Linked DNA regions of Homo sapiens: all the other regions are linked to region 1. Evidence: promoter capture Hi-C in 16 types of primary human blood cells and fetal thymus (Javierre and others, 2016). All regions are on one chromosome and are shown on one strand. The core of a region is centred on a gene start or on the middle of the fragment in contact, and the rest is flanking DNA. Distances in the headings are between cores, read along the strand shown. Region 1 holds the start of SDAD1 (SDA1 domain containing 1). Region 2 holds the start of CDKL2 (cyclin dependent kinase like 2). Region 3 overlaps G3BP2 (G3BP stress granule assembly factor 2). Region 4 overlaps RCHY1 (ring finger and CHY zinc finger domain containing 1). Region 5 overlaps RCHY1 (ring finger and CHY zinc finger domain containing 1).

Region 1 (5,511 bases), core at 1,154-3,653:
CCAGCAAACACAGACATATCTTTGGTGACAGAAAGCAGATGTGTGTTTGTCTGGGGATGATGAGGCACAAGGAACGTTTGGGGATGATGGATATAGTCATTATTTTGATTGTGATGATGGTTTTATGGGTACATACATATGTCAAAACTTATCAAATTGTTCACTGGGTAGTTTGTTGTACATCAATTATATCTTAATAAAGCTATAAAATAAATACATTATAATTTTAAAAATAAAGGATGGAATTTCACATGAAAGCAGAGATGTTGGCCTTAGATACCCAAATTATTTAACATCTGAAAAATATATATTCAGTTAGCCACTCTTAGTCTTAGAGTTCTCATTTATCAAAAACAAATCCTGCCTTCCATGCTGCTGGAGGTAAAATGAACTGACCTATATGCCCTCCTTAGAATAGCAATTAAAGCCTTTCATATCAGGACAATATAACCTTCTCAGCTCTTTCCCTGCTGCACCCTGCCCTCCCAGCCTTTAGTCACACCAAACTTATGGCTATTGTTTCAATACACCAGACATTTTCAAGTACCTGTACGCAGTCTTTTTTCTTTTTTTTTTTTTTTTGAGACAGGGTCTCACTGTATTGCCCAGGCTGGTGTGCAGTGCTTCACTGCAACCTTAACCTCCTGGGCTCAAGCAACCCTTTTGCTTCAGCCTCCTCAGTAGCTTGGACCACAAGCCTGTGCCACCATGCCTGGCTGATTTTTCAACTTTTTGGTAGAGATGGGGTCTCACTATATTGCCCAGGCTAGTCTTGAACTACCCAGCTCAAGTGGTTCTCCCACCTTGGCTTCCCAAAGTTCTGGGATTACAGGCTTGAGCTACCACACTTAGCCAGATTTTGTTTTGAGAATACTTTTTTTGCCCTCACTAAAACAACCTAGCCAAAAAATTTTAATTTAAATCTATGCTTTTTAAAAAAGATTTATTGCTGACATTTATTTCTTAACTTCACAGGTAACTGATTTGATAATTAATAAATAAGTCATTCTCCAAAAGCAGCTGAATAACATGGTTTGTGAAGCATTCTTTATTTTGTGTGCAGGTGTGATTACAGAGTTGTTTTGTTTGGGGCTCATTTTATCATCGTCACAGATGAGGTTGGCGTTCTATAAAATTGCTTTGGTTAAGCAGAACCCTATTGTCTGGCTATTTTGCCAGACCAGCAACCAGCTACCAGCTGTTAGGCTATGTTTTTTCTCATGTAGTTACAATCAAGACTGTCTAGATTGAAATCTCATCTTCCTCACAGGCTATGAATTGAGGCAGTCAACTTCCCTGAGCTTGTTTCCTCTTCTGTAAAATGTAGATAACAATAGCACCTATTTTAGAGGGTTGTTCTGAGGATTAAATAAGTTAATACAAGTGCTTGGAATAGTGCCTGGCACAGGGTGGGTAATTAGGTTTTTTTTTCTCTCTCTCTAATTCACAACACCCTACCTCATTCATTCAACCCTTATTGATTTTTTACACCTTGAGATTGTAGAAATGTATTCTCCTCTTCGAATTACCAGGATCTGAATTAAAAACTCTGACTGAGGAGTGCTTACAAAGCTTATAACGATGGTTGAATTTTAACGATTAATTGCATTTATTAATGGTCAACATGATCACATTTTATCCAGCCCTCTTTTCCCTTGTATGGGTCACGCTAAGTTGAAACAACCAAAACCAAAATAAAAACATATCTAAAATCATACACATTAACTTATATGACCCTCGTTGCTCTTTTTTCCTCCTAAGAGGGAATAGTGTTATCTAGCGCCACGGTTCTTTTCAGTTTTGTTTTGTTTTGTTTTGTTTTTTATACGGAGTTTCGCTCTTGTTGCCCAGGCTGGAGTGAAATGGTGCAATCTCGGCTTACCGCAATCTCCGCCTCCTGTGTTCAAGCGATTCTCCTGCCTCAGCCTCCCTAGTAGCTGGGATTACAGGCATGCGCCACCACGCTCGACTAATTTTGTAATTTTAGTAGAGACGGGGTTTCTCCATGTGGATCAGGCCGGTCTCGAACTCCCGACCTCAGGCCCGCCTTGGCCTCCCAAAGTGCTGGGATTACAGGCGTCAGTTTCTAATTTTAGACTGCGGGATTAAAAATAAACGATTAATCCTCATTTATGTGCTTCATATGGGTGTCGGAATGACGATACATGCTAACACACGTGAAAAAATTTACATTTCAGATCCTTTCAGAAACGCAAGGCAATATTAAGTAGTAGCATATGCCCAAGGGCGAGGGGCGGGTCGGCGGTGGCTGGCTCTCCAATACACCACAGAGTATTTTGGCAACGAGAGTAATTTTGACACTCTGAGGCTTCCGTAGCATAGCTCGCTTTAGGAACCGCTAAGGTGTCGCCTGCCTAGAGTCCCATGCGCTATTTCCGGTCATACCCGGAAACACGAGTCCAAGCTGCAGCTGGCAGGGATTGCGGGGTGCCGGCCGTCTGAGTTTTTTTAAAACTGCTCGCCGCGAAGTCTGTCTGCAGCCAAAATGTCCAACAGAAACAACAACAAGCTTCCCAGCAACCTGCCGCAGTTACAGAATCTAATCAAGCGAGACCCGCCGGCCTACATCGAGGAGGTGGGAGTGCGGCGCGGCAGACGCTAGAGGCCGGATAGTGGATGGTTGAGACGCCGGTGCGGGAAAGCATGGAGTGGGGCTGGGATCCAGGCTCGCCGCCTATTCTTCTGTTAGGTTCAGGGGTCCCTCCAGAGGAGAGAAGGGGTTGGGGACGGGACATGCCTTAGGGTTCGTTCCCCACCTCTTGAAAATCTGTTGCCCCTTTGGATTTTCTACCTGCCCTGCTGCCGCTGAAACACCTTTAAAACCTCATTTTGTTTTAAGATATTTTTCTTCGTCCGCACGGAAGTGGAGAGAGAAATGGGCCGCACCCAACCACCAACTTCCACGCGGATTTCTCAGCCTCTTTTCAGAAATCCCAAACTTGAATTAGTCGGTAACCTTTGATGAATCGTATGTTAGAATGCTTTCGATTGACGTCCGTTTCTGAGAGCAGGCTGTGTACCCTGGACTGTGCCAGGAAAGGGGGGGGGGGGGTTTCTCAAGCACAACGGACAGACTCGGGAGCTTAGTATATTTAGTTAAGCCAGGATTCAAACTTACCGGAGACTGGCATGACTCGGATGTCAGAATTTGCTTCGGGAAAAGATTAGGTTGAAAAATTAGGCCCTCATTGTGATGGGCTTTGTGTACTGACCTCATGTAAGTTGTGAACATTAGGGGTGTTTGAACCAAGTACCGACAAAACGAAAGTGGTTTTTGATATATTAATCTGACAGGTGCTTCCTTCAGACACTCATTTATCAGACGGGCATTAAACAGGTATCTCTGCTAGGCATTTGCTGCAATTACATGTTTGTGCTTCTACCAGATTGTGATTTGTTCAGTGGCTAACACAATTACTTATTTTTTCATTGCCCTTCTCACTTCCCTCCTCCCCTAAATTTTCACATATATGTATTTTATGAGTGCTTTTTAACACATGGCAATCTCAGTGGCTTAGGTCACCAGTAGAGAAAGCCTCTCCAAGGATCAAGGTAGTGGAAATAAAGAGTAGGAAACAAGTACAAGAAGTTAAGTAACATAGGCAAGGCTTTGAGATGCTTAAAGCATTGTATAGCCATTCGCAAAGAAAGTGGTAAGTTGAGAGTCTATATAATTCCGTTAGATAACTCCTGCTGCTGACTGTTGTTAACCAGTTGTGTAACCGAAGCAGGTTAATCGCTGAGCCTATGTGGGTATTTTAATATGTAAGAAGGGGGTAATAACTACTTCTTTAATTCACTTAAGTATATATGCAAAATCACATATAACTACTGTGTGTTGTTATTCTAGGTAGGCGTTGGGGTACAGTAATGAATAAGACAGATAAGAAAGCATTCTTCTCTTGGACTTACATTCAAGTGAGTGTAGACTTATTATGGTAGAGATTATGAAGAAAATAAAACTGGATGGGAATAGGTTAGAATTGGAGGCTTCTGATTTAGACCCCGTAAACAGGGAAGGTGGCTCTGCAATGATGATATTGAGCCAGGCAGGTAAACATCATTTTAGGTACAAGGAATAGAAAGTGCAGAAGCTACTGGTGGAAAAAAAGCAGAGAAGAAGCCAGTGTAGCTAAAGTGTAGTCAGCATAGAAGAGGGCAGTGGAAGATGATGTAGGAAATGCAGGCAGGGGTCAGCTTATTCAGAGCCTCTTAGGCCCTGTTAACGAGTTTAGATTTCACTCTGAGTGCCTCGGGGAGTGATTGAAGAGTTTTAAGCAGGAGAGTGACATGATCTGACATATTTTTTTTAAGAATTTACTCTGGAAGTTACATGTGGAATGGCTTGTAGAGGAGCAACACTGGAAGCAGGGTAACTAATATAATGGATCTCAGAATAACCAAGCAAGGGATTGTGGTGTCATTGGAATTATGGGCAAAGATTCGTGCTGTTCTACGTGGAGGTAGAGCTAGTAGAGCCTTGGGATTTCTGGTGGAGTGGATGTGGGGGATAAGGAAAAAAGAAGGAATGAAGGATCACCCAGGTTTTTTATTTATATGTCTAGGTAGATGATAGTGCCATTTCCTGAAGTTCGTTCATTTGACAAATACTGTTGATTACCTGCTATATGTAAGGCACAATGCTGGGCCCTGGGACTACATAATATTGAGCTGTACCGATAAAAATTCTATGCTCATTAAATGACATTCTAGTAGGGGGTGATATACAGTAACAAATAATATAGTATGTTAAATAATGAAAAGTGCTGTGAAAAAAAGACAATAGGAAAGTACTTATGTATGTTGGGGGTGAGATGGGTATTGCAGTTTTAAATTGGATAGTTAGGGAAGGTCTTCTTGAGATAGTAATCTTTGAGTGAAAACCTGAAGGACATGAGGGAGAGCTGTGCATATGTTTAGGAAGAATGATCTAGGCAGAAGGAACAGAAGGTATAAAGACCTTGGGGTAGGTATGCCTGGTAGATTTCAGGAACATAAAGGCCAGTGTGGCTCCAAATAGGGAATGAGGAAAGGGGGTGAATTTGGGATTCTACCTCCCAATGAGATGGAAGCCTTTACAGGGTTTTGAGCAGAAGAATACATGAACCACCCTATATGAGAACAAGATCACCGTTACTTGAGGATAGACTGTATGTAGGAGGGCAAAGATAGAAGCAGAGACACCACATAAGAAGCTATTGGAATTATCCACAGCAAGAGATGATGCTGGGTTGAGTGGTGCTAGGATGGTAACAGGAAGTAGTAAGAAGGGTGATTAGATCCTGGATTGGGTAGGTAGAGAAAGCCCTGGGGATTCCCAACATTTAAAGGCCAGTGAGTTTCTAAGTAACTGGAAAAAGGGACTGAGAAAGCAGCCAGTGAAGTTTCGAGGAAAACCAGGAGGTGTTCTGGAAGCCAAGTATAGAAGATGTTCCCAAGGGAGGGAGAACCCAAGCACATCAGATGCTGATGAGTCAAATAAGATGAATA
Region 2 (5,321 bases), core at 608-3,107, 360 kb after region 1:
AGTAACACAATCCTGTTTCTACATAATACCTTCTCTATTAACAATCCTGTAGATGGCCAGAATGTGTAAGTCTTTAATAACCTCTGTCCTCTACAACTGGCTTTCAAACTCAGTTCTTACTGAAATTGTTTTTTTTTGGTTTGTTTGTTTTCTTTTTTTCAGTCTCCCAAGTAGCTGGGAGTACAGGCGTTCACAACCATGCCCAGCTAATTTTTGTATTGTTAGTAGAGACAGGGTTTCACCATGTTGGCCTGGCTGGTATCAAACTCCTGACCTCAGGTGATCTGCCCGCCTTGGCCTCCCAAAGTGCTAGGATTACAGGCATGAGCCACCGCATCTGGCTGAAATTGTTTCCTAAAGCATCACTTGTTCGCCAAATCCAGTATTTTCAGTCTTTATCCTTTGGTTCCCTGTGAGATATAAATAGATTATTGAAGCTTCTAGGCCTCTTGCATGAAGGGGCCTTAAAATGTTATACGGTTGAATATGATTATAAAGTTGCAAAAGTAAAATAGTTTTGCGCTCTTGTTCTTAAGCTTCAGGCCCAACAAAACTGAATCTACCCCCATATAAAAGAAGTTCATCAGATTCTCTTATAGCCTATAGAGGTACCAAATGGGACAGGGCTTCTCGCAACTTGGACACAGCTAAGGACAGAGCTAATTGCTACACTAAGAGTCACATCTTGAATTGACCAAATAATTCTATTCTTTCCATAACTAGGCCTCAGGTCTGGTTCTCAATATTACAGGTTCAGGAACTAGATTTTAAGCAGTCTGACCAAGGTAATTAACCACTGGGAGATTAATGCAAACTAACCAAACTCACAAAAGACTATAAAAAGAATGTCTATTTCTTAATGTACAAGAAGGAATCAATACCTTAACATTAATGATTAATACCTTAATATTGACTAGGGTATATGGTAGACATTTGTCTATCCAGGACACTCTATTCCCTAAATCAAAGTAGTTTCGAGACCAAAATGATCATGAACATTTAGTTATCATGATTGAAAGTGTTATTTTACTGGCCTTATGGCCTCCTCGCTGCCTCAGATTCTTTGAAAATGGGGTAAGCTCTGTTCCTGTGTGATTTAAGCCTGTGCATGATTCTGACCTACCAGTCTTGCTCAGTCGTGGATTGAGCTGCATTTTTGCATTTAAGGCAAGTTTTATCGCAAGCCCTAACTCCACCCCATTTGGCTGCCATACGCGGGTGTTGTGCGTGTCCTCCAGATCCCCAGCCATCCCAGCGCTTTCCCATTCCACTCATGCCCTCTCTTCCCCTTCCTCCATCTCAGTGTTTTCCCTCACTTTCAATGGCCAGACTGGCCTTCCCAAGGTCCCTCCTAACGTCAGGTCTGTCATCACCTACCTTCTTCCACCTTGCCTCGCCTACTAATCATCACCTCCTAAACTGTCACCGTTATCTCCTACCTGGCTCACACTGGCCCCACCGCCCAGAACAGAAAGGAAGCATGGAATCCCGGTCAGGCCGCGCCTACGCGACTCAGGGCGCCCGGCGCCCGCCCCTGCCCCAGCGGCGATGCTATGAGGGAAACCGTATCGCATTTTGCATAGTCTTCGCAGTCCTACATAACCGCCACCTTTACCCTTCGCGTGGGCATCACAATCGCCTCCTCCCGCTGGGGAAGGCAGAAAGGCGCCTCCTGACGAGAACCAAGGCGTGTGGGGACGCAGGGCCTCTGCGTGTCAGGGAGCAGAACCTGGGCCGAGCCCTAGGTGAAGGGGCGGGGTGGTTGGCCCTGAGCCAATCATGGCTCGTGACGACTCGGCTCGGCCAATCAGAAGAAGGGAGGCCTGGCGCTCTCGGGGCGGGTGAGAAACCGCCCCCCCTTGCAGCTCCGCGGCCAACGCCTTCGCCCAGGGGTAGTTGGAGCGGTGCAGGTTCCCAGGCTCCAGGTACTGGGCGCCTTACGAGCTGGGAGGTGGTGCCTCTCACCCAGCTAATTGCTCTCTAGCCCTTGGCCTTCACAGGTGTTGGTGCCTGCCGTGAACGCATTCTGACCTGGGCCGTATCTGTCTCCCAAGACTTTGTGCCTATGGTTGGGGACAGAGTGAGGTCGTTGCCTTGACGACGACAGCATGCGGCCCGTGGTCCTCCTAAGTGTGAGCTTGCGGCGGACCGAGGCCCACCTGCCTCCCTGCCTGCTTCGCCCTGGACTCGTGACTGCGTCCGCAGAAGAAATCACAACAGCGCTGGAATTGCTAGTTTGCTAGGCAGCATCTTTTGGACCTGCGAACCATATGCATTTCACCTCAAATTTGTTTCCAAGTTGAAAACCTTTGGGTCTTTCTATGCGAACGGATTGAAGAAACGGTAAGTATAGTACGTTTTAAAGCTTCTATTATCTCGTTCTTTGATCTATAAAAGATTTCAATCTTTTTTTTTTTTTTTTTTTTTTTTTTTTTTTTTTTTTTTTGAGACGGAGTTTCACTCTTGTTGCCCAGGCTGGAGTGCAATGGCATGGTCTCGGCTCACCGCAACCTCTGCCTCCTGGGTTCAAGCGATTATCCTGCCTCAGCCTCCCAAGTAGCTGGGATTACAGGCATCACCACCACGCCCGGCTAAGTTTGTATTTTTAGTAGAGACAGGGTTTCTCCATGTTGGTTAGGCTGGTCTCGAACTCGCAACCTCAGGTGATCCGCCCGCCTCGGCCTCCCAAAGTGTTGGGATTACAGGCGTGAGCCACCGCTCCCGGCCCTTTAATCTGTCTTAAACAAAATAAAAAATTAGCATTCTCCAAATATTTTTATCAAAATTGTTGCTTTTAGAACCATCCAGAAATAACACCTTGCCCATTGGCCAGGTTTCTTTTTCGTTTGTATTACCTTTCCGTTCAAGAGTAGAAGGCATGAGAAGTTATAGTTTATGAGTAACTGTTTCAGGAAACAGGAGGCTTTGTAGGCTGTGATACTTTTAAAGTATTTGTGGACAGTGTCACTTGAAAAAGCAGGTGTGTTCAATGTGGTGTGTCCAGATATGCAATTGGTTGGGAGAATAAACTTGAAGCAGTCAACTTGCATTAATGTTAGCTTGGGATATGCTTCAGAACACCTCAGACATGCTTAAAGTCATTTTTTTTGGTTCACTTTGTGCTTTCAAATATTGAGGACATCAATTACAAAATGTTTTAAAATAATCCAGGTTATAGATTCAAGCTATTTTTGTCATTGGTATGATAAACCTAAAGCCTAGTGCTTAATAAAACATACTCTCTTAATGGAAGAGAAAAAAATTAAGAAGGGATAGAATTATATGGAGATTTTTTTTTTCAAATACAAACAGTTTATTAAAAAATAGTTAATGGAAGTGGAATAGAAGGTAAAATGTCAAATGCATGGAAAGTTAGTGTCTGGGACACTGCTCTGTAAAAAGTTTGTAGTAGAATCTACTATGAAAACTGGTAGTAAAATAATAATTTAAGTCGATGTTCATTGGTATTGTTTTCATTTCCCACCCCTCAAGATCAATCTTCTGGTTCTCCACATATAGCTACATTAAAAATATATATATTATAAAATCTCAAACTATTATATGTCAAGTGTGGAAAACGTATTGTATACATTGGATTAGCATAGTTTGCTAGAACAAAGAGAATATTTGTTTTGTCTTTGCATCACTGTTCCAATAGAGAAATAGGAAAAACAGTTCACGATCTGAGTAAATTTTAGATTGCCGTAAGTATACAATTAATACAACAGGCAAGAATTATTTCTTGTTAAAATCTATCTGTATTTGGACTGAAATAATTTTTTATCTATTATTACTGAAATAATAGATAGTTAAAATCTATCTGTATTTGGACTGAAATAATTTTTTTCTGTACGAAAGCATTTTGTCCAATGATTGCTGGACCTTCGTCAATCATTGGTAAAACAAGAAAGATTCTCTTAGGATTGCCTTTATTCAGAAAATGTCATATAATATGAGTAAAAAATTTCAAGGCCGGGCGCGGTGGCTCACGCCTGTAATCCCAGAACTTTCGGAGGCCGAGGCGGGCAGATCACGAGGTCAGGAGATCGATACAATCCTGGCTAACACGGTGAAACCCCGTCTCTACTAAAAATACAAAAAGTTAGCTGGGCGTGGTGGCAGGCGCCTGTAGTCCCAGCTACTCGAGAGGTTGAGGCAGGAGAATGGCGTGGACCCGGGAGGCGGAGTTTGCAGTGAGCCAAGATCGCGCCACTGCACTCCAGCCTGGGCGACAGAGCAAGACTCCGTCTCAAAAAAAAAAAAAAAATTTCAAACACAAATTCAAATTATACTTATAGTGAGTAATCATTAACAGGGTTTTTGAAATACTTTTACTGTACTTGGTACTACTAATATTTAATTTAATTTAATAATTACATTAAATTTAATAAAATTTAATTTAATTTTAAAAATCTGCTTATATACCGATGTCATTACTCTTATTTTCTAAGTTCAATATAGTAACAGTAACATGGCGAAACCCCGTCTCTACTAAAAGTACAAAAATTAGCTGGGCGTGGTAGCGGTGCCTGTAACCCTAGCTACTGGGGAGGCAGAAACAGGGAATCGCTTGAACCTGGGAGGCAGAGGTTGCAGTGAGCCGAGATCGCGCCAGTGCACGAGACTCCGTTTCAAAAAAAAAAAAAAAAAAAAGAAAAAAAAAGTAAAGAAAAATATTTTATGAAAGATGCTCTGTGTTAATTTGTTATGTGATCAAATATTTTTTCCAATTAAGTGGAAGGTGCATAAGTATTTCCAACATTGATCTAAATCCAGTGTAACAAAAAAGTTGATCTTTATTAAAACTAAATTCAGGCCGGGCGCTCTGGCTCACGCCTGCAATCCCAGCACTTTGGGAGGCCAAGGTGGGTGGATCACTTGAGGTCAGGAGTTTGAGATCAGCCTGGGCAACATGGCAAAACCCCATCTCTATGAAAATACAAAACTTACCCGGGTGTGGTGGCTCACGCCTATAATCCCAGCTACTCAGAGGCGGAGGCAGGAGAATTGCTTGAACCCAGGAGGTGGAGGTTGCCGTGAGCCTAAATCTCACCACTGCACTCCAGCCTGGGCAACAGAGCAAGACTCCGTCCCAAACAAACAAACAAACAAACAAACAAAATCCCCCACCAAATTCAGTTATACATCTTTGAGTGAAAAGGAATTGTGCTTTTTTTTTTTTGAGACAGAGTCTCACTCTGTCACCCAGGCTGGAGTGCAATAGTGCTATCTTGGCTCACTGCAACCTCCGCCTCCTGGGTTCAAGGGATTCTCCTGCCTTAGCCTCCCGAGTAGCTGGGACTATAGGGGTGCACCACCAT
Region 3 (5,249 bases), core at 402-2,901, 340 kb after region 1:
ACCACCCTGTCAGGGTGGGTACTATTGTTTCTGTTTTAGAGATCAAAAAATTGAGGTCTAGAGTAACTCACAGACATTTATGTACATAGTAGGGTTGGGCTTTGAAGTCATGCAGTGGGACATGAGTCCATATGTGGCTCATGTAAACGTTTATTTTTTTGAGACAGAGTCTCGCTCTGTCGCCCAGGCTGGAGTGCAGTGGTAGTGGCAGTGGCGTTATCTTAGCTCACTGCAACCTCCACCTCCCCAGCTCAAGTGATTCTCCTGCCTCAGCCTCCCGAATAGCTGGGATTGTAGGTGCCCGCCACCACGCCTGGCTAATTTTTGTATATTTAGTAGAGACGGGGTTTCACCATGTAGACCAGGCTGGTCTCAAACTCCTGACCCAAGTGATCCACCCGCATTGGCCTCCCAAACGGTGGGGATTACAGGCATGAGCCACTGCGCCCAGCCTCATGTAAACCTTATGCAATTCTCCAGCACCTTGCTGCAGAGTCATGTATCTTATCTGTATTTGCATCAAAGAGGACTCTTAAGACATGCCTGATTAAATCCTAGTCTCTTGCCCAGAAAAATACCTTCATATTTATCTCAAGTAGTTTGCCTTAAATATATTTTCAAAGTTAGTTGTAGGAAATGAAGTTGTATTTCCTATGCCACCCCTTTAATAAAACAAAAATTTTAAATGTTTAGAATTTAAACTTTAAAAGAACGTTCTAATGTCTTTAGGCTATACTTAAAATGGATTCATGATATTTCTACTTGATTTAATAATCCTTCAATTTTAGTTTGTTACTTTTGTGTAGTATTCATTTCCTTGTACTTTGAACATAGATTATTGATAAAAGGAAGTTAATTCCAGGGTATTGGTAGGCATTAACTTAGAAGTAGGTAAGTTAATTTCTTGAATAAAATATTTTGTCTGGAAATTGACTAGTTCACCTACAAAGCTTATGTTTAATTGAAGGGCTTATTATTTGTGGTTATACCTGCTTTTATTGACTTGATTTGATGGTTCTGTACTTACTTCATATTCTGTTTGACCTTCATTTGTGGGTTTGTCATTTGATCATACTTTCTGGTTGCATGGAATTAATTTTAAGGCCCTCTACTGTGTGGCATATTGGCCATGTTATCTGTTCAGAAAAACTAGTTTTAATCATGAAACTGGAGACCTGAAGAATTATAAGTATGCAGCTGACTTAGTTAACATATGTCAATCAGTTACTGAAAGGGACAGTGTTAGCTTTTTGTTCTTGTATTTTTCTTAAACTGGCATCATCAGATATCTACTTAAAGTCAGATTCCTAAATCAATGGCATGAATTATTTGTAAGATGTTGGAAATTATTAATATTTAACTTTATCTGTTTTTAATTTTCATCCTTAAAGAATAAGGAAGAACTTTATTTTGCTACTTGTAGTTACTCGTGTTTTGATAATCTGTTTTGAAAAGAATTTAAATCAGTCAAGACCAGGGCCTCAAGTTCTTTGATAACATTTGGATTGAATGAGTCTAAGGTTTTTCTTAAATTTTGTAATAAAGGTGCATTTAGTGTTTTTATTAATTGCCAGTAATACACTCACTTTATTAAACTTTGACAGAGTACGTTTATTCTCTAATTCTGTTTATATTCATACTGAAGTATGCCTTTAGACCCCCTTAGTTGAAGTTTCTAAATAACTGCCTTTTTCAGCATCACATTTTGCATCAAATTATTATATAGAATTAAACCCCAAATACAGATAGCGGTGGTCTCAGGGCTGTCACTTACGTATCTTTGTCAGACATAGAACATTATCCTGCATGTTTTGGGTCAGAGAACTAAAAATGTAATTTAATTTAAATGAACAAATAGTTACTGAACATCTGTGTCTAATAGCACTGTGCTTGGTTCTTTGGGTGATGTAAAAGTAAGTTAAGATATGGGCCTTGGGCACTGGCGTGCCTGTAGTCTCAGCTGCTTGGGAGGCTGAGGCAGGAGGATCACTTGAGCCTAGGAATTTGAGGTTACAGTGAGCTATGATTGTGCCACTGCACTCCAGCCTGGGCAATAGAGTAAGACTGTGTCTCTCTAAAAAAATAAAAGATACAGACTTTATAGGAGTAAATACATATAAATAACAACAAAACCTGGAGAGAGTTAAAAATATTCATTTTATAACTAGTAGAATTCTAGAATATGGTAAGCAACTTCATCTTGAGGGAAATAGGACATTGACATAGAGGAAAACAGAATTTAGGAAGAGGCAGGCAAACTTGGTTAAACTGTTAGCATAGGAGTTAATATTCCTTTTGGTTACAGTGGCTGAAATCATTTACATTAAATTGTCATTTTTGAAAGAAGCTTTTTTTTTTTTTTTTTTTGAGATGGAGTTTCTCTCTTGTTGCCCAGGCTGGAGTACAATGATCTGCTCACGCAACCTCCGCCTCCCAGGTTCAAGTGATTCTCCTGCCTCAGCCTCCCTAGTAGCTGGGATTACAGGCATGTGCCACCACACCCGGCTGATTTTGTATTTTTAGTAGAGACAGGGTTTCTCCATGTTAGTCAGGCTGGTCTCGAACTCCCGACCTCAGGTGATCTGCCCGCCTCGGCCTCCCAAAGTGCTGGGGTGATAGGCATGAGCTACTGTGCCTGGCTGAAGGAAGCATTTTTGTGTCAGAATTTGTCCTTGTAAATTACAATATCTGTTATATAAATGATTAAAGAGTTTGAGCCGCTGCATGGACTGAGGTCCTCAGAGATGACCACTTTTTTATTTATTTACTTATTTATTTCTGTGAGAAGGAGTTTCACTCTTGTTGCCCAGGCTGGAGTGCAGTGGCGTGATCTTGGCTCACTGCAACCTCCGTCTTCCGGGTTCAAGCGATTCTCCTGCCTCAGCCTCCCAAGTAGCTGGGGTTACAGGTGCCTGCCACCACACCCAGCTAATTTTTTGTATTTTTAGTAGAGACTGGGTTTCGCCATATTGGGCAGGCTGGTCTCAAACTCCTGACCTCAGGTGATCCGCGCAGCTTGGCCTCCCAAAGTGCTGGGATTACATGGAGATGACCATCTTTAAAGATGGGACTGAAATTACTAGCTTTCTGAGTTGAGGACATGTTCTCCATATCCTGTTGGGTGTTTTCAGCATCCTTTGTAGGCTCATATATTTGTCTCTCCTTGGACCATAAATATTTGGGTAGTAGAAGGTCTGAAGAGGTTGGGAATACTGAAAATGCTGTTGTCTTGAGGAAAAGGTAATAGCAGACGCCGATGTAATTTTGTTTTAAAAATAATTATATGTTTAATTCAGCAGTTGGCAGAAACTTTTGGGAGGCATCTTAAACTGTCCTATTACTCCCAGACCCCTAGTTAAGGAAAATCGTTGGGACCAATACTTCAAATGCATATTTTTCTCATAAGGAAGAACAGTAGGGAGCTAAAGGACTTTAACTATTTGAGATGCTACATACAAGTTCCTATAAGTTTCTGTCATTTTTTTAACATGCATTTTAACCTTACAGGTAGCAATTTCAGGTGTTAGAGCAAGCTAATTTTTATACTTTGAACTATAAAAATACTGATTTTAAGGTTATGGGCAGAGATTTAGGCAATACTACTGAGCACTGTTACATTTGAAGGATAGCAAATTAGATTTTCAGAAATTATGTGTTATGTATTCTTGTCTAAGATGAAGATGGCTTTTAATTTTGTTTATGTATTTACATGGAGTGGTTCATCTTGCATTTTTGTGATTTTTTTTTTTGGTAGCAATACCTTTTATGCTATTTCAGTGTTGATATAACTTTAATGAAAAAATGTGACTGTAAAAAGCAACTTATTGTGAGTTACACAGCATTAAGTGGGAAAACAAAAGCTACCTACAGTCCTAGATTGGTACAGAATATCTTGATAAAAATTTATTTTTCTCATACATAGGACACTATGTTAAAAACATTCTAAACTTAAAACTACTGTTATGTCTGCTAGTGACTTGTCGTTAGGTGCTTTGGTTGGTTTTTCTCCAGTGGAGTGTTTTTTATAATGTTTTTTTTTCTTTATATTTTAGCCAAGAGTCGAAGCTAAACCAGAAGTTCAATCTCAGCCACCTCGTGTGCGTGAACAACGACCTAGAGAACGACCTGGTTTTCCTCCTAGAGGACCAAGACCAGGTGAGTCAGCTCCTTTATAGCCTTTAGCATTTAACATTTGTAAGGCTGTAAAAGACTGAACTTAAACAAAAAACTATGATGCGTTCTATACACAGACCCATATAGTCTCAAATTGCTTAAAGATGTGATGTGAGCAACCTGCTAAATAGTGTCTGGGGCCAAATAACCAATTTTTAGGGAGGATTGGTTGACATGCCATGGTGACATATTTTGAAGGTGTAAAAGACTTAAGTCTTATTTGGTTATTGTCACGGTTTTTTGTTTTTTTTTTTTGTTTGTTTGTTTTTTTTTTGAGACGGAGTCTTGCTCTGTCGCCAGGCTGGAGTACAATGGCGTGATCTCAGCTCACTGCAACCTCTGTCTCCCGGGTTCAAATGATTCCCTTGCCTCAGCCTCCCAAGTAGCTGGGATTACAGGCACACGCCACCAGGCCCAGCTAATTTTCTGTATTTTAGTAGAGACAGGGTTTCACCATGTTGGCCAAGATGGTCTCGATCTGCTGACCTCATGATCTGCCCTACTCGTCCTCCCAAAGTGCTGGGATTACAGGCATGAGCCACTGTGCCCGGCCTAGTCACTGGTTTTAAGAGTTCAAAACCAAGCTGCCAATAACCTACTCTCTTAGCAGTCTTATCTCTTTACAGATAAACAATAAGCCCATTTTGATTCTTAGGTATTAAGTAAGTTGCCATGATTTTTGACTTGTTTACCTTGTTAGCTACACATGTAATACTTTTATTTGAACTCTGTAAGAATGTTTAGATTGCTTTGGGGAGGAGATGGGAGAGATGGAGATAGTATATATCACATTTACAATGTGAATTTTTAAAGTGATATGTTACCAAACTAGAAGTCCTAAATTTGTCAGTGATTAAACTTGGGATCTTGAGTGAAACCCTTAAATTCTGAGCTTCTTTTATGTCAAATATTACACAAATTATTCTTGTATTGCCTATTTTCCTCACTGTGTTCCTTGTGTTATTGGGAGAATCAAATAAGATTTTATGTATATCTATATACATACACACTTAATATGTATAGACTGCATAAATGTGATGATTGCTGTTAAAATTTACTGATTGCTGTAATGTCAT
Region 4 (5,490 bases), core at 336-2,835, 480 kb after region 1:
GCTCTGCAAGGCCAAAACTACTTTCTATGAACACTAAGATATTTGTTTTTTTTTTTTTTCAGTCTGTTGACACACGCATTGATGGTGGAAAAGCACTGTTTAGTATTGCTAGTATCTTAGCTTGAATCAAGACAGTGGCACTGAACTATACTACACCTATAGTTTTTTTAAAAAGCCAGCTTCACTTAAAAATGTTGATAAAGCAGTAAAATCGTTAATTTTAACCAAATCTCAACCCTTGAATATATCTTTTAATATGCTGTTCAATGACATGGGAAGTTTTGATCAAACACTTCTGCAAACTGAAATTAGAGGGTTGTCTTGAGGAAAAGCTCTTGTGCAAATTGGATTGTAAAGTGAACTAGTTGCTTTTTTTCATGGAACAGCATTTTTTACTTGAAAAAATTGTAGTCATTCACATTTGGGTAGTTGGCAGACATTTTCTCAAAAAGGAGAAAAGTGAGACTCACTACAAATGAAAATGACAGTATTTGTTGCCAGTGATAAAATTCAAGCTTTCACACAAAAATTAGAATTTTGGAAAACTTTTACTAGCTTTTGTGAGGTTGGAAGCTTTTTAAAAGACTTTTTTTGGTGAGATTTTCTTCAATACCTAAAGACTTTTAATGAATATGATTTTTTGATATTGCATGTTAAATGTGTGAACATTTAGAAGATGTAAATAACTCACTGAACTGGTATTCTCCAGATGACCAATGCATGAGTAAAACATCCATTTGAAGTGCAAGATAGAGCAATAGATTTTAATGTAACCAAGGAAGAAAAGAGGCATCATATCAATCATATTCCTTGATACGATTTCAGATTTCATGTTGCAACTACCCTTTAAGAGTTGTTGTTCTAGTGTAATATCAGAGAATGATATCCATAATTCTCCAAAAAGGCTATTAAAATACTCCTTTCTTTTCCAGTGTACATATTTGTGTGAGGCCAGAGTTTCTTTTTGTACTTCAGCCACAACTGTTTGAATGCATAAGCAGATAGAAGAATTCAGCTGTTTGGGGGGAAAAATATAGTTATTTTTCATTAAAACATGTTATTTATGTTAACAAGTAATGAGTTTGTTACTTTTAAAAAGAAGTAATATTTTAAAAACCTATTCTTTTTAATTTATGATGTGGTATATGTCAATAGATAAAATCCACATAAACCAAAGCTCTTTGGGATTCTCAGTAATTTTAAAAAGTGTGAAGGGATCCTGAGACCAAACCATTTGAGAACTACTGTTCTGCGGTATAACTATGAGAATAGTGGGTTGGAGGACAAGGTTATTGGAAATGACAAAGTTAAGGAACTGAGAGTTGCAGAAAAAGGAAGCCAGTTAAGTGTTAAAATCTTTAAGGAATGAACTACGTTATGGTAAGTCAAGGCATAGGAAGCCTTCAGAAATGAGTGGATCTGCAAGGTCACAGTGTATTGGAAAGTCACTGGCCTGGAAATCTCTTGATATACTTGTAATGGTAAAGTTGCTGTAATGAAAAAACCCAACAGTGATGTAGATTAAAGAGTAAAGGTTTTATTTCTTTCCATTTAACAATTCCAAGGCGAGTGATGCAGGTTGGTGATGAGGCTTTGCTCCACATGGTCACTCCAGGGATGAGATTTTTCTGTTGTATCATTTTGTCATGTTTTAGGGCATGTGGCCATCTGTCTGATATAGCTGAACAATTGTGCCCAGGAAGGAGAGGATAGATTTTGGTGGACAACTGGCAGTCTTTGCCGTGTTTGAAAACAAGGGCTGTCTCTTACATTTGTTGCATTTTGTGCAATATTAGATATGAGGTTGATGATTAATAAAAGCTAGTAAAATAAGAATATAATCTTTATTATTTTTAATGTAAATGAATTTATCTGGAAATGTCTAAGAAGAGGTTGCCTGTTTGCTGTTTAGGCTCAGAATGAAATTGGGGTGTTATATTAGTCTGTTTTCACACTGCTGATAAAGACATACCCAAGACTGGGAAGAAAAAGAGGTTTAATTGGACTTACAGTTCCACATGGCTAGGGAGGCCTGAGAATCATGGCGGGAGACAAAAGGCACTTCTTACATGGTGGTGGCAATAGAAAATGAGGAAGAAGCAAAAGTGGAAACTCCTGATAAACCCATCAGATCTCATGAGATTTTATTCATTATCACGAGAATGGCACGGGAGAGTCTGGCCCCCATGATTCAGTTACCTCCTTCTAAGTCCCTCCCACAACACGTGGGAATTCTGGGAGATACATTTCAAGTTGAGATTTGGGTGGGAACACAGCCAAAGCATATCAGGTGTTGTGGGATTAGTGTTTCAATCTAGGGATTTCCTTCATAATTCTTTTGTTTTAAAGTTGTGTTCAACTTCATACAGACGTAGTGATGTTGAAGGGAAGAATTAACATAAAATATGCCAAGAAACTAGTGAAATGTTATGTTTAGGATCAGTTTAGCAACTGATCTATTGGTTGTAATCTTTCAGTTCCATCCAGGAGGAGGAGGAAGAAATTTTCTTTTTGTATTGCACACTTAGTTTCTTTTGCTTCTTACTATATCTCTTTTTTCTCCGTGGGTGTTAGGCACCTTGCTGTGACAAGCTTTATACTTGCCGCTTGTGTCATGATAACAATGAAGATCATCAACTAGATCGCTTTAAAGTGAAGGAAGTGCAGTGCATAAACTGTGAAAAAATTCAACATGTAAGATTTTATGACATTTCTATTTTCTTTTTAAAAGCTGTATTAAGGTGGTTTGAAAAAATTTAATCAAAAGTATCATAAATAAGATTTCTTTAACTTCTAGAATAAGCAATATCTTTGGTTTAGGTGTTTCAAAACTTATAAAAATAAACTGCATATAGTTGAACATAAGTTCTAGATATTCAAATGGTAACTCAAAATGTTTAGTTTATTGCAGTTTTTAATTATGTTTCTTTTTTAGGCCCAACAGACTTGTGAAGAATGTAGCACATTGTTTGGAGAATATTATTGCGATATATGCCATTTGTTTGACAAAGATAAGAAGCAGTATCACTGTGAAAACTGTGGAATTTGTAGGTACTGTATGTAAAGTGTTCTTATCTAATTGCTTCTAATGTATATGCAATAATAGTTTTTAAAATCAACTTTATTAAGGTGTAATTTACATCTGATAAGATACATTCATTTTAAGTGTCCAATTAAGTGAGTTTTGATAAATACCGGTATCTCTTTTACTATCAGCACAATCAAGCTATAGAACATATCCATTCTAAAAAGTTTATTCATAATTTGTTAATAATTTAATTTACCCATCAATTATTGTATAACTATTTAGAATTTTACCTTTGGATTATAAAATATGTTTTATATAAAGTGTTTTATGGGCAACTGAGGTAGAGAATTGGGATAAATTTTTCCTTTGTAAAAATTAGTATTTAAAAAATTATCAAGAAATACAGGTGATTTTATAAAAATTGGAAAAAACAGAAAAGTAGAAATAATAAAAATAAAATAACCAGAGCCTAACCACAGACAAGCTACTGTTGACATGTCGGTGTATAAGGAATTATTTTCTTTCTTAAAAATCTCGAGTATTTTAGATGTATATTAAAGCATGTATGTAAAGTGTGTCTAAAGTACAGTACAGTGAATAAGCCACCGAGTTTAGGAAAGGAATGTTACCAATACTGTCAAAGCCCAAGGTGTTCCGTGTTCAGTCCTTTCTTCTTGTCCCTGCTGGAGGTAATCACTGTCTTGAATATTTTAAATCACTTTCTTGCTTTTTTTTTGTTTTTTTTGTTTTTTTAAAATATAGTTTGTTTTTAAGGAAGGATAACCAACCTACCAAAAGATAACAGAAATTATAAGCAAATGATTTTATGAATTTTAACAAATGAACATGCCTTTGTAACCACTACCCAGATCAAGAAACACAACATTCATAGCACCTTCATAGCTTCCTGTGTGCCCCCTCCAAATTAATACACTTCCCCAAAGGTAACCAGTATGCTGACTTTTGGAAGTTTTTAATGAATGGAATCATATAGTATATGCTCTTTTGTGTTTTGTTTTGTATGTTTTAAGGCCATGTCTTTCAGCGGTCACATACTTAAAATTATTACATTTTCCTGTATGATTGACCCATTTATTATTATATAATGTGTCTTTTTATCTTTAGTAATGTTTCCTGCCCTAGGCTCTACTGTATCTATATCAGCTTTCTTTCGATGAGTTTTTGCATGTATATCCTTTTCCATTTAGACATTTTTGTATACTTACATTTAAGTCATGTGTCTTGTAAAACAGCATATAGTTGAATTTTAATTTTTCAATCCAGTTTGATAAAACTGTCTTTTAATTGGAGTATATAGTTCGTTTTTTATTAAGGTAGTTAGGATATGTTCGTGTTTCAATCTACAGTTTTGGTAGTTTCTATTGCCTTAGTATTTGTCTTTTTTCCTCTCCTTTCTTGTCTTCTTTGGATTAATCTGTTGCTTTCCTATTTGCTTTTATTCTCTATAGGCTTGTTAGTTATACATTTTTCAATTATTTTCTTAGTGGTTATCCTAGAAATTATAACATACATCATTGGCTTACTAGAATAATATGTTTATCACTTCTTGGACAATATTAGGACCTTAAACACTAAGAGTCTTTATATGCTATTGTTGTTATATATTTACCGTTTCTATTGCCCTTCTTTCCTGTAGGTCTCCAGCATTATCTTTGGAGTTACTTTTCTTCTGCTTAAAGAATTGTCTTTAGTGTTTCTTTTAGTGAGGTCCTGCTGATGATACATTCTCTCAGTTTTTTTTGTCTCTGAAAAATGTCTTTTTTTTGCCTCCATTTTTGAATATTTTTGCTGGGTGTAGAATTCTAAGTTTACAGGTATTGGTTCCCCTGACCTCCCAACACTTTAAAGATATTCTGATTCCATGGTTTCTGTTTAAAAATATCATTTCTCAGGATTATTATTGCTTCTTTGAAGTTAAAATGTCTTTTATCCTCCTCTCGCTGTTTTTTAAGTCATTGGTTGTTAGTATTTTTTCCGTGTGTCCAGGTTTGATTGAGTGTAATATTTATCTGGCTTGGGGTTTGTAGCATTTGTTGAATCTGTGGCTTGATGTCTTCTGTCAATTTTGAAATATTTTTGGCCAGTTTCTCTTCAGATAATGTTTCTGTACCGTTTTCCCACCTCTTCTGAGACTCCATCCCATAGATCTTTTTACTACATCCCATGTCTCTTTTTTTTTTTCCTGTATTTCTCCTACTTTGATTTTCTTTATGCTTAAATTGGATACTTTCCACAGATTAACTTCCAGGTCTCTCTTCTGCTGCATTGAATCTGCTTTTAAGCCTACCAAGTTATCTATTTATTTAAGTTATAAAATTTATATTTTATCTTCATTCTTGTTATTTTCTAGTTGTCAGGTGAAATTCTTTACCTTTTTTTTCTTTGAATGTATTGATCACAGATGATTTAAAGGACTGTGCCTAATAACTCCAATATCTTGA
Region 5 (5,082 bases), core at 1-2,500, 500 kb after region 1:
TTACATTATAGTACTGATTCTATCTACTGTAAGAATTTAATTAAGAGAATGGAGGATTGGTGTAAAGTGAAGTGTAAATCGTACTTGTTCAAGTATAGGAAATTCCAGATAAGGCAGAACAGTATAAGTAGCAACATTGTAGCTGTTGAGAGAGAGAGAGACAGATAGACATTAATTGGAAAGAGACTGTTTGAAATCATTTACTTAGCAGTATAGTAGGTTCGATAGAATATAAGAATAAGAAGTTATTGCAGAAATATAATATTAGCTAGAACTTGGCCTAAATAGTAAAGTGGTGAGGAAAATTGAGATGAATAATGAACATATATGATGTGGTAATGGTATTAAGGAAAAAGAATGAGGCAGAGTAAAGATGACTCTGAAGATTTTCAGCCCCAGCTTAAGGTACTTGATTAGTAGATTGTAAATTTTTTGAAGATAAAAGATTGAGTTTGGTTTTTAAACTTGAGTTTGGGGTGATGGCAAGCTATGCTAATGGAGATAGCCAGGAGTCAATAGTATCTTATAGATTACATTTCTATGATGTTCTGGTTTCCAAAGCATGTGTAGTGTGTGTGCACACACTAATTCATTGCATCCTCACCTCAGCATTTACATTCCATCAACTCAGAGATGCCACTGATGATCAGATATGTTGTAATTGTGGGGATGTTAAAATGTATGTGTGAGGTGCACTTTAGAATCAAATGAAATATGTATTAATTTTATTTTATAAATAAGAAACGTTAAGACTAAAGTGGTGGCTAGTCCAAAATCTCAAGGGCTGGTAAATAGCAGAGCTAGGATTACAGTCTAGATTTTTAAACTTACTATTAAGCTTATTATTTTGAGGGTTTTTCTCCCCACTATACTGTCATCTTTCAAAAACTTACATCTATTTTTTTGTTATGGTTTTTTTTGTTATGTTGTTTTTCAGTTATCTTTTATTGTCTATATTACTAAGTGGTCCTGCCATCTATTAAGTGCTTCCGTTAAAAACCTGGGAGTCTTCCATGGCACAGTGCTTTCCCTTACCTCCTTGGATTTAATCAGACATTACATCTTGTCAAATTAAGAACTCTGGCTCTGAAGTTAGCCTGCTGGAGCTCCAGTTTAATTCTGCCTCTTATTAATGTGTGACTTTGGAAGTTCCTTAGCTTCTCTAGGCCTCCACTGCTTTAACTGTAAAATGGTATAACAATCATAGCCTATTTCATCTAGGATTGTGAGATTTAATTGATCTTATACAGGTACTGTGCTGAACATGGCATGTAGTAAATTTCAATAATATGAACTATTATTACCAATATTATTAGTAAGTTGAGCTTACTAATTTAGGTCACTGGCTTTGGAGTAAAACATACATAATATGCAAAGGTTCCAAATCTTATTATCTTTGGATCTTGGGTAAGTGTCTTGAATTCCTAAGTCACTTTCCTTATTTGTGAAATGAAGGTAATCTCAATAATGTTTATTGACATTTTCATTGTATCAGATAATATGCCAAGCCTGAAATAGTGTGAGATTTAAATAACTATTAAAAAACTCTTCTTACATATAAAAAGCATATATTAATGTTAGCTATTATTTTTAGTAAGTTGGTTTTGTTAATTTTTATTATTAATATTTTTATACCTGACATTTTAATCTAGTTAAGCTTTTGTTAATGTGAATTTCTCTTTTAAACAGTGTATTGAAAATGTGTCCCGACAGAATTGTCCAATATGTTTGGAGGTAGGCTTAAAATATTTTTTACTTTGGAAGTCTCAGCTCTTGAATTTAAAATACTTGGATGTTTATATTGTCTTCATACAAGCACTAACATTTATTTCATTTACAGGACATTCACACATCCCGTGTTGTTGCTCATGTCTTGCCATGTGGACATCTTTTACATAGGTAAAGTAACATCTTTTTCTCAATGATGTTTGAAAATAGTGGAGACAGTTTTTGTTTTACTAAAATAATCTTATATTTTCTTTCAGAACGTGTTATGAAGAAATGTTGAAAGAGTGAGTGTTTGGGATTTTAAAAATAATTGTAAGATGTTTGACTTTTTTGTGTGTGTGGTGTGGGGAGGTGGACAAACATTGTTACTTATACTATATTGGGCATGGCAATATTTATATTGAAATGGGTAGGGTAGATGAATATTGTTAAAACAGGACAAAGTGTCTTGGATATAGAACTACACTTTTGCCATATGTTTCTCTTAAATCTTGTCTCCTCCCACAATTTGAGGTAGTTACCTCTTTTTTTTCTGGCCATATATACCAGGAAGTGCAGTTTTTGCCAGATGCAGTTATAGTGTTGTAAAAATGCTGAAAAATATTGCCAAAAATTTGTTAGGTTGTTATATTGGCCAAGTATAGTAAACTAAAAGAAAGTAGGTGAAGTGATCATTAAAGCTAAGACTTTATTAATGGAAAAGATATTAAAATTAGATGAAAATAATTGAAAAGAGAAGACTGTATTTTGGTCCTACATATTGATGAGCAAAAATGTGAAGAGCTAGAGAGAGCATTCTTTTTTTCAAATTTTTAGAAAGGAAATAATATCTGAATAATTTTAAACAAATACAGTCTCTTTACATGAGTGTATTAAGAAATTAAGGTTGTTTAGATAAGGAGTAGCTTAATTAGTTTATAAAAATATATGAAGTGTATTCTACAAAGAATATGGACTAATTCCTCTCCATTTTAGAGTACTGAGGAAAAAGACTTAGTTTTAAATAAGTATACAGGAATTAATTTAAAAGTTTTATAGTGTGAAAGTTCCCAGGTTCCTAAGAGATTATCTTGAAATGGAGGAAAATGCCTGTTTTGAATGGTTCATGTGGCAGTTAGCCTGCATCTTCTTGTATACCTGAATTAATATATTCTTGTTTAATATTTGGAAAATAACCTTTCTATCTCTTTCAGAGGCTACAGATGTCCATTATGTATGCACTCTGCTTTAGATATGACCAGGTATTGGAGACAGCTGGATGATGAAGTAGCACAGACTCCTATGCCATCAGAATATCAGAACATGACTGTGGATGTGAGTAGAATCAATACTTAAAACTTTGTAGACTCCTTGTTGGCACTCTTATTTTTGCCCTCCTGCTTGAATTTGCCAAAAAAAAAATATATATATACTGGTTTGACACAGATGCTAATGTGATGATTAATGGAAAGCACAAAATGATTTTTAAATTTTAGTTAAGTAGCTCAGATCGGGAAAAAAAAAGTCTTAAGAATACCTTTATGTAGTTTTTCCCAACACTAGATGGCAGGCAAAAACTTCATTCTGAATTGTTTACATATTACTTGCCAGAGTCAGTCAGTAATATAACTGACTAGGGTTGGATCACTGGTGGGACTTTTTAAGTACATTTTATTTTTAATTATTTTACATTTTATTTCAGGAGAACATATTTGCTGATTTTTGAGATTACGTTTTGGTTTTTAGTGTTTATTACCCTTTTTATTCCATCTTAGACTTATTTTTATGGAGTGCACACAGGAGACCCCTTTTTCACTTCTGTTGTTCACAGAATCATAAGCAAGGAACAAATTGAGAGATAAGAGTCATAATTACAGAGAAGTCTTGATTCATGATCTTGGGAAAAAACTGTCCACACTAAAATGCTGCTTGCTTCTGGGGAGAAACTTTCCTGGTTAACTTTGTCTTAAGGTCTCTCATGGGTGTCCACTTCCAAGAGTGTGGAGGGTCCCTTCTGAAATGTGAGATAATGAACCTAAGTTCAAAGTCCAGAAGCTTTAGTGTAGGTGGAAAAGGCAGTCTTTCTCTGATGTTGTTCTCAGAGACCCAGTCTCCAGATTCTAGATTGTGAAGGGTTTGATTGTTCTTAGTCATTGGACCATCAAAATTTTCTTTACTTGGTGAAAATACACTTTGGCATAATGCATAAAAGCCTTGCGGCATTTAGTCATATCAGAGTTTGGTAGTGGAAGATACATGAGATTCTATTTATTATTAGGTATACAGGCCTTCCAGTGATTATTTCGTAAGGGGTCAACTTACGTTTTCCACTCCAAGGGGATCTGATTACCATCAATCTGCAATATCTTTGACCAAGGCAATCCAGTCAATTCAGTTAGTTTTGCCTAATGCTATTGTATCTGTAGTATCTTATTTAACTATTTTACAACTTATCCAGTGAAATAAGTACCTGTGTCACTGGAGATTTCTCTAGGAATGTCCCATGAGAGAAACACATTTTATAATAACCTTTTAGGTACTGTAATAGAGTTAACCCTCTTGCATGGGATACCTTCTATACAACCAGAAAACATGCATTCAAAATGACAATTGAATGTAATCCTTCTATAAATACTTAAATGGCCCATCAGGTAGCAGAAATGTACGTGAAGTTTTGATTGTCTTCCCAGGATTATGGTTTCGACAAAGCAAACATTGGTCATAAATTATTTTAGCAATTTAGCAATATATATAAATTTTATATATACATGTAAAATTTGGAATATTTTATCTTTTCCATGATGAGCCATGGAATGCAGACTTTTTTTTTTTGTTTGTTTTAGACAGAGTCTTGCTCTTGTTGTGCAGCCTGGAGTGCAGTGGCACAATCTCGGCTCACTGCAACCTCTGCCTCCAGGGTTCAAGCGATTCTCCTGCCTCAGCCTCCCAAGTAGCTGGGATTACAGGTGCCCGCCACCACACCTGGCTAATTTTTGTATTTTTAGTAGAGTCGGTGTTTCGCCATGTTGGCCAGGCTGGTCTTGAACTCCTGACCTCGTGATCCACCCGCCTCGGTCTCCCAAAGTGCTGGGATTATAGGAGTGATGAGCCACCTTGCCTGGCTGGAATGCAGAACTTTTAATAATGGAAGCTTTAAGGATTTAGGAAGGGCCAGGTGGCTGTCCAGGTTCTCCATGAGTCCATGCTTAACATTGGATTTGTGTCCTCTTAAATACCAGGTTAGGTGCCTACCACTGATAACTGAAGGGTTATTATAGGTAATTTGACTTGGATTGTGGAATTGATTGAAATCTAAACAATTTCAGTACTGGCTGCTTTAGTGTGAAAATCTGGCAAAGTATTTTCTTGGTATTC

The links. Contacts are between HindIII fragments. The CHiCAGO score rates a contact against its expected background, and 5 or more counts as called.
Region 2: a contact is called between the fragment with the promoter of CDKL2 here and the fragment with the promoter of SDAD1 in region 1, in 5 of 17 cell types (naive CD4 T cells, fetal thymus, non-activated CD4 T cells and 2 more). The highest score is 7.1, in naive CD4 T cells.
Region 3: a fragment that was not itself captured here is called in contact with the fragment with the promoter of SDAD1 in region 1 in 1 of 17 cell types (activated CD4 T cells); the score reaches 5.1 in activated CD4 T cells.
Region 4: a contact is called between a fragment that was not itself captured here and the fragment with the promoter of SDAD1 in region 1, in 7 of 17 cell types (total CD4 T cells, activated CD4 T cells, fetal thymus and 4 more). The highest score is 8.4, in total CD4 T cells.
Region 5: a fragment that was not itself captured here is called in contact with the fragment with the promoter of SDAD1 in region 1 in 1 of 17 cell types (total CD8 T cells); the score reaches 8.9 in total CD8 T cells.

The regions. Positions count from the first base shown.
Region 1 is chr4:75,987,837-75,993,347 of GRCh38, reverse strand. SDAD1 (SDA1 domain containing 1) reads left to right here and starts at 2,403. Exons shown (of 22, transcript NM_018115.4): 1 at 2,403-2,596. The coding sequence starts at 2,507. The region is part of intron 1 of SDAD1-AS1 (SDAD1 antisense RNA 1); the gene reads right to left. The HindIII fragment of the contact is 958 bases long and covers 1,575-2,532 here.
Region 2 is chr4:75,627,064-75,632,384 of GRCh38, reverse strand. It overlaps CDKL2 (cyclin dependent kinase like 2), which reads left to right and starts at 1,857. Exons shown (of 14, transcript NM_001330724.2): 1 at 1,857-2,343. The HindIII fragment of the contact is 1,829 bases long and covers 539-2,367 here.
Region 3 is chr4:75,647,545-75,652,793 of GRCh38, reverse strand. It overlaps G3BP2 (G3BP stress granule assembly factor 2), which reads left to right. Exons shown (of 12, transcript NM_203505.3): 9 at 4,053-4,155. Among named protein-coding and RNA genes, the nearest start is that of CDKL2, 20 kb to the right of the region's middle. The HindIII fragment of the contact is 1,397 bases long and covers 953-2,349 here.
Region 4 is chr4:75,506,381-75,511,870 of GRCh38, reverse strand. RCHY1 (ring finger and CHY zinc finger domain containing 1) reads left to right here. Exons shown (of 9, transcript NM_015436.4): 2 at 2,575-2,694; 3 at 2,936-3,051. Among named protein-coding and RNA genes, the nearest start is that of RCHY1, 5.3 kb to the left of the region's middle. The HindIII fragment of the contact is 2,019 bases long and covers 576-2,594 here.
Region 5 is chr4:75,488,541-75,493,622 of GRCh38, reverse strand. RCHY1 (ring finger and CHY zinc finger domain containing 1) reads left to right here. Exons shown (of 9, transcript NM_015436.4): 5 at 1,690-1,734; 6 at 1,841-1,899; 7 at 1,986-2,012; 8 at 2,922-3,042. Among named protein-coding and RNA genes, the nearest start is that of RCHY1, 23 kb to the left of the region's middle. The HindIII fragment of the contact is 819 bases long and covers 841-1,659 here.